2 separate regions of the Homo sapiens genome follow, and region 2 is linked to region 1. The links are contacts of gene promoters, found by promoter capture Hi-C in human tissues and cell types (Jung and others, 2019). All regions are on one chromosome and are shown on one strand. The core of a region is centred on a gene start or on the middle of the fragment in contact, and the rest is flanking DNA. Distances in the headings are between cores, read along the strand shown. Region 1 holds the start of EIF4EBP2 (eukaryotic translation initiation factor 4E binding protein 2). Region 2 holds the start of UNC5B (unc-5 netrin receptor B).

Evidence for each region. Contacts are between HindIII fragments. The study calls those that stand out against the background at their distance.
Region 2: the fragment with the promoter of UNC5B here is called in contact with the fragment with the promoter of EIF4EBP2 in region 1 in 2 of the 25 tissues and cell types used here (heart right ventricle and liver).

The regions. Positions count from the first base shown.
Region 1 is chr10:70,402,520-70,405,575 of GRCh38, forward strand. EIF4EBP2 (eukaryotic translation initiation factor 4E binding protein 2) reads left to right here and starts at 1,626. Exons shown (of 3, transcript NM_004096.5): 1 at 1,626-2,027. The coding sequence starts at 1,883. RefSeq lists silencers at 1,498-1,687, 1,718-1,927. The HindIII fragment of the contact is 23,735 bases long and covers 1-3,056 here.
Region 2 is chr10:71,211,215-71,214,326 of GRCh38, forward strand. UNC5B (unc-5 netrin receptor B) reads left to right here and starts at 1,356. Exons shown (of 17, transcript NM_170744.5): 1 at 1,356-1,850. The coding sequence starts at 1,772. RefSeq lists an enhancer at 1,118-1,412 and a silencer at 1,257-1,516. The HindIII fragment of the contact is 13,648 bases long and covers 1-3,112 here.

The DNA of each region.
Region 1 (3,056 bases), core at 376-2,875:
TCTACACAAATGTAAACTAGTATCTTCCCCTTTCCTTCCACTAGAAGTGTCTCTGTTGGCATGTCCAAAGTCTCAGAGTCTTTCAAGGTTAAACTCAGCCCTCTGCAACTCTGGCAGCTTCCAGATGGCAGGACAGGCAGGGGACTTTTTTTTCTGGATTCTTGGGGCACTCACCACAAAATCAGTACCATGTAATGCCCTGGCCTGCCCTGGGCTGTTGTAAGTTCTTTTGTCTATGTTCTTGCCAAGCACCTGTTTGACCCTCTGAGCAGTGAAGCAATAGCTGTTTTCCCCTCAACCTCTCTTACCCTTATTTCTCTCATTTGCAAAATGGGAATGATGGTAGCTATGTTGGCCTTACCCATGAGTGTCTTCCCAGTCCCACCTTGGGCATGTTGTGGGCAGAAGTAGTGCTGCCCTAGTGCAGCGGTTCTCAAAGTGTGATCTGGAGAGCCCCTCGGGGATCTGAGACAACCTTCTTTTCTAACTACATACCTGTGTGAGGCTGGGTTTTCTTCATATAGTTGAATCAACACATTACAACAGCTTGAACACAGAAACAGATATGAGAATACAGCTGTTTTCTATTAAGCCAGATATTAAAGCGTTTGCAAAAATATAAAATAATGCCACTGTTCTCACTATTTGTTTTAGATAATTAAAAAATATAATGTCAACATGTAATAGGTTATTATTTTATGAATTAATAAACATTTAAAACATTCTCAGTTTTAATTTGTTTTTTGTTGTTGTTGTTGTTGTTGTTTTTTAGAGACAGGGCCTCACTCTGTTGCCCAGGCCGGAATGCAGTGGCTATTCACAGGTACAATCCCACTAGTGATCAGCAGCGGCTCAGTTTTAATTTCTAATACAATAATTATCAATACATATAATCCACACAAACAAAAGCTCTTGGAAATCCTCAATAATTTTCAAGAATGTAGAGGTACTGAGACCCAAAGTTTGAGAACCCCTCGAGGAAAGAATAGAGTTCCAGATCTAGATTTTTCAGGTACCTCATGGTCTAAGCCCTCTCCTGTGCCTCATTTTAACTCTAATACAATAATACTCATTCTTGTTGCCATGAGTGGCTCTTGGTTTCTTCCTTTTCCTAATGTTTAGATCTTGCTTTATGTGTGTATATAGTGATGGTCTTTGGAAGGATACACAATTAACTGGTACAGCGGTTGAGGGGAGTTCGGAAACTGGGAGAAAGTGGCACCATAAACCTTTCTGCTCTGTTTGATTTTTAAAATACAGTACATCGTGCATGTAGTGCCTGAATTAATAATGAACAATTAAAAGTAAAATTACATTTTTAATGCATAGGAATGCATGAGAAACTCAAGTCTGCTCAAGTAAAGTGGTGTTAACCGACAATGACAAACAATAAGAAGAAAGTTTTCCTTGTCCGCCTTCACCAGGCTCACAAACACTTAGCTCGCGCTCCCTCTGGCTCTTCTCCCGCTCGCTGGGGTTAAGCCACTCTCTTCCTCAGCCCTGCCCCTCGTCCCCGCCCCCTTCAACAACTTCAGCCACGCCCCTCACTGCCTCGCCCCGCCCCGCGGCGACGTCACCTCCGGCCGACCAGCTTCCCCAACTCCCTCTGGCTCCCGCCTTCGCCCGCTTCCGGTCGTCGTCGTCGCCGCTGCTGCCGCTGCTGTTGCTCCTGAGGCTGCTGGCTGAGGCCGGAGGATCGAGCGGCGGCGGCGGCGGCGGCTGAGAGGGCGGCGGCGGGAGCGGAGCGGGACGAGGGAACGGGAGGAAGCGAGCGAGGAGCGCGCAGAGCGCGCTTTTCCGTCCGCCTGAGGAGCCGAAGCAGCCCCGGCCCCGCCGCCGCCGCCTGCCCGCCGGACAAAGCCGAGAGCCCGCGCCCACAGCCATGTCCTCGTCAGCCGGCAGCGGCCACCAGCCCAGCCAGAGCCGCGCCATCCCCACCCGCACCGTGGCCATCAGCGACGCCGCGCAGCTACCTCATGACTATTGCACCACGCCCGGGGGGACGCTCTTCTCCACCACACCGGGAGGTGAGCGCCGGCCAGCCGTCCGCCGCGCCCGGTGTCCCGCCGCGGTCCTCTAACTCCTCGGCGCCTCGGTGCCCGGCCGCTTCGCCCCCGCCCCCAGCTCCACCGAAGCCCCGGGGACGCTGCCCTTGGGCCCGCCCGAGCGTTCGGGACCCTTTACTTCGTGTTCGCTCTTGCCCGCAGCTCGAGTCGGCGCGCGCCCCACTCGGGAATGTGGCTGTCCTGTCGCGAAAAAGAGCTCTTGTTTCCGCTTCGTGGCAGGCTTACGCATTCGACCCAGTTCTCTCTCTCCTCTCTGCCTCCTTCCCGGGCGGATTTGGCTCCACTTGGCCTTGCATTACAGTCTGCATTGCCTGTCGTAGATTGTGCAAATTAATGCTTGATTTTGGAGCTGGCTCCGGGGCTTTTTAAAAAAGAACTTTGGGAGAGGAATTCGGCCCTGGCATCCTGCGATGGCTTGTTTTTGCTGCTTTTAGAACACCGGGAGGAGGCTGGAATGCGGAGTCTGGAAGCCTCGCCCAGCGTTATCCCGCTTTGACAGCATTGTTTACTTTGCTGGACGAGGCCCCACGGGTGAGGGGAGTCCCCAGGCCGGGAGGAGAGCGTGATAAAATAAAGCTCAAGTAATAGCCAAGGGAAAGTAGGTGGGGGTGGTAGGGTGCTGACAGCCTTAAGGTAGGGTGTCTTTCGGCAGCGACGCCTTTGGAAATGGATTGAAGGACCTTTGTCAAGGACACCCCAGTTGGGTGGGGTGGTTGCTTGATCCTGTGGAAGGGGCTAGAGAGAGGCAATCCAGAGAGAGGGTGGTTCCCTGGCATTGCTTTTCAAAGCATGACCAGGAACTGTTTACAAATAAGTAATACTGGGGTAGAGGTGAAGCTTGGTCACGGGAAGAGAGCTCAAAGGTTGTCTGTGCCCTAACTGGGCTGTCCTCCAGAGGGAGGAGCCTGGAAAGCGATTTTGAGGAGCCTTATTGAAGGGAACGGGGCCTCCTTTTTAACTTCAGAACTTTGTCTTCTTTTGGTGCTGGGG
Region 2 (3,112 bases), core at 106-2,605, 810 kb after region 1:
CATGCACGACCTCCCCTAGATACTCCAAGACCCCGGCTTGTGAGGGGAGTGTGTGTGGAGAGGGTACTAGTCCTGCCTTCACCTCACCTCTGGGGAAACAGCTAGGACAGTCCCCTTCGCACAGCCCAATCCAGCCCCAGGGAAGGTGTTCAAGTGAGGCTCCCCCGTTTAGAGGGTTTCTTTCCAATCCCATCTCCCCCATCCCCTTTGCTCAGTCACTCAGTCACTCCAAGCAGTGTGATCTCCGGCAGGTGGCTTTACACCTCTGTGCCTCAGGTCCTTCATCTGTAAAATGGGATGTAAATGGTGCTTACTTCAGAGGGTTGTGAGAATTAACTGACATGATGCATACAGAGTGCTTAGCCCTGTGCCTGGCACAGGGAAGGTCTTTGCCTATGTTAGCTGATCCGCTCGTTCTGATCTCTCTGGGTTTCAATCCCAAGACACTGCCCATCCTTCAAACCTCACCTGTCCCCACGTGCTCCTTGGACCACCTTTGGGTGGTCAGGACTTTCCCCCTGGAATCAGACTGGCTGGGAGGGGAGAATCTTGGAAAGAGATTATTGACACTTGCACTGCAATTTCCACACAAGTTTTAAAATTTAATTCTATACCCCCTTATGAAATAGTTATCCTTTTCCTCCATTTTACAGATGATGATGAAGGGAGCAATAGAATTGTTAAGTAACTTGTTCAAGGTCACACAGTAAATAAGGGGCAGAGTCCAAGTTTACACTGAGCCAAAAATGGCTGTCCCACTGTCAGGTAGGAGGCTAGTTTACAACAACGCAGGATCAGAGTGCTGGAGGGGTTTCCAGGGGTCTGGTTAACAGTTCTGCCGGAGATCATACAGACAAGCAGAGCCAGCCAGGATGATCCTAATCTATACCCAGCTTCATATCGCTGTAAGCCCCCGCGTAACCAGGACTTGGGTGTTCTCATTTTGGGAGCCTTTTTTTTGGAAAGACCCCCACATGTGGAAGGCAGAGCGCATACTACAGACAGGGGAGCCAAAAGTGAGAGTCCTATGTTTAATCAGAGGAGAAAGCTGACATGGCCAAGCCAAATGAAGGCGCAAAGCCAGATTTCCTTAATTTGGGGGAGCGAAAATTGGGCCGCCTCCACGTCCAGCCATTCTCCAGCGGCCGGGTTTTTCAAAACGCTGCGCCCAGCGTCTCGCGAGGACCCTCCCCCCGGGTCCCCCAGCTCTGCCGCGGCCGCGCCCAGATGGCCGTCGGATCCCCCCTCAAGGTCCCCCTGTCGGCTCCGCCCTCGGTCGCCCAGGCCCCGCCCCGGCCGCGCGCGGTCCCCTCGGTTGGCGAACTCACTCCGGCGAGCGAGCGGCGGCGCTCGGCATTGTGGCAGGCGGCTGGGGCCGGCTAGGGCGCCGGAGCCGCACGCAGCCGCGGGGCTCCGAGAGGCGCGCACTGGGGCTGGGACTGCGCGGCGCCGCCGCTGCGAGCGCCACTGAGCGGTCGCGCAACTTCGGAGGCACAGCGCCGGAGCCAGGCGAGCGCTCAGAGACCCGGAGCCAGAGGGGCGCGCCGGAGCCTCGTTCGAGAGCCGGCGCCAGGCACCCACCGCGCTCCGAGTGCCAGGCGGCCCTCCGCGCAGCGTGGCTTCCGCTGCCCCCACGGAAGGCACGGGCTGGCGCTGCCGGGCGCCGGGGAGGACGGCGAGGAGGAGGCGGCGGCGGCGGAGACGGCGGCGGCGAGACTGGGGCCAGGGAGACAGCCCTGGGGGAGAGGCGCCCGAACCAGGCCGCGGGAGCATGGGGGCCCGGAGCGGAGCTCGGGGCGCGCTGCTGCTGGCACTGCTGCTCTGCTGGGACCCGAGGCTGAGCCAAGCAGGTAGGAAGCGATCGGGTCTGGGGGCGCGGGGCTAGGGGACCCTTGCGCCTCACTCTGTCCTGAAGTTGAGGTGGTCTTTCGTCGCATCGATGCGCGCAGGAAAAGCGGCAAGGGCGCCCAAGTTAGAATGTAGATTTTACTGCCTCCCAAAGTGGGCAATGGCGCATCCACATCGCGGGAGCGGGGAGCAGGGAAGGGGCTTCACAGTAAGCTGAAAGGTCCCTGCTCGCTCCTGAAAGGGATCCCTTCTTCTCCCTGGAAGGGGTGTAGGAGTCAGGGTCTGAGTCTCCGGGAGGATCCGCCTCCTGGGGACGCCCGGCTCTCCGCGCGCCTGGCATCCGCCCCGAAAAAGAACATTGGCTACATAAGCAAGGTGTGCGCTCGCTGCCGTACGCCGGTAACTTACTAGTCTGGTCCCGGCTCGCCTAGGCTCTTACGCGCTATAGGGACAGCAATCTGCAGACTAGAGGGAGAGAGCGAAAAGACCTGCTGAACACAGGAAGCGCTTCGGTAGCCTCGGCAGGCCGGCTTGCAGGGCTCCTGAAGCGGGGAGGGCTAAGTCTTGCACACATAGCTTTCCCCGAGATCGCTGGGCCCGCAGGTCTGGAAGAATTATTATTATTATTATTATTATTATTATTATTAATTTTCTGAGTGTTGGAGAGTGTGTGTGTGTGTGTGTGTGTGTGTGTGTGTGTTGGATGCGGGTAGGGGTTCTTAGCGATCCTGCGGAGTTTCCTTTTAAATTGGTCACTGACATTCTCGCTGTCCGGGGAACAGACTAGGTGCGCTCTCCTTGGTACAGCGCCCGCTCTGGACCCACCAAGATGACTTCAGCGAACTGGTGGGCTCCGAAATAAAGTCCCTAACCCTCCTCTCTCGCCGTGGATGAATACGTTTCTCGCTCGTCCTGTAGCTGGACCCGGCGTCGCTGGCTGGGCTGCGTCTTCTCGGGGAGGCTGTGGACTGAATGGAGCCAGCCTCTCTCTGGTACCCGAACCCAAGCAAGTGGGCTGGCCACGGCTGCCGGGCGGCTCGGCTCCGGAGCCAGGTGGGGACGGGGCCTCCTGCACGGAGTCCTCTCTGAGTTGAGGCTGAGAATGGAGCAGGAAAACTGGAGCAGAAAGTGGACGAGATGACGCAGCCCTCCCCACCTCCTACCTCCTGCTGCGAAGTTGACATCCGCCCTTCCCCCCTCCATAGCCAAAGATTCCTCATTCTGGAATTAGTGATTCCCACGGCCAGGAGTGAGGGCTTGGCTT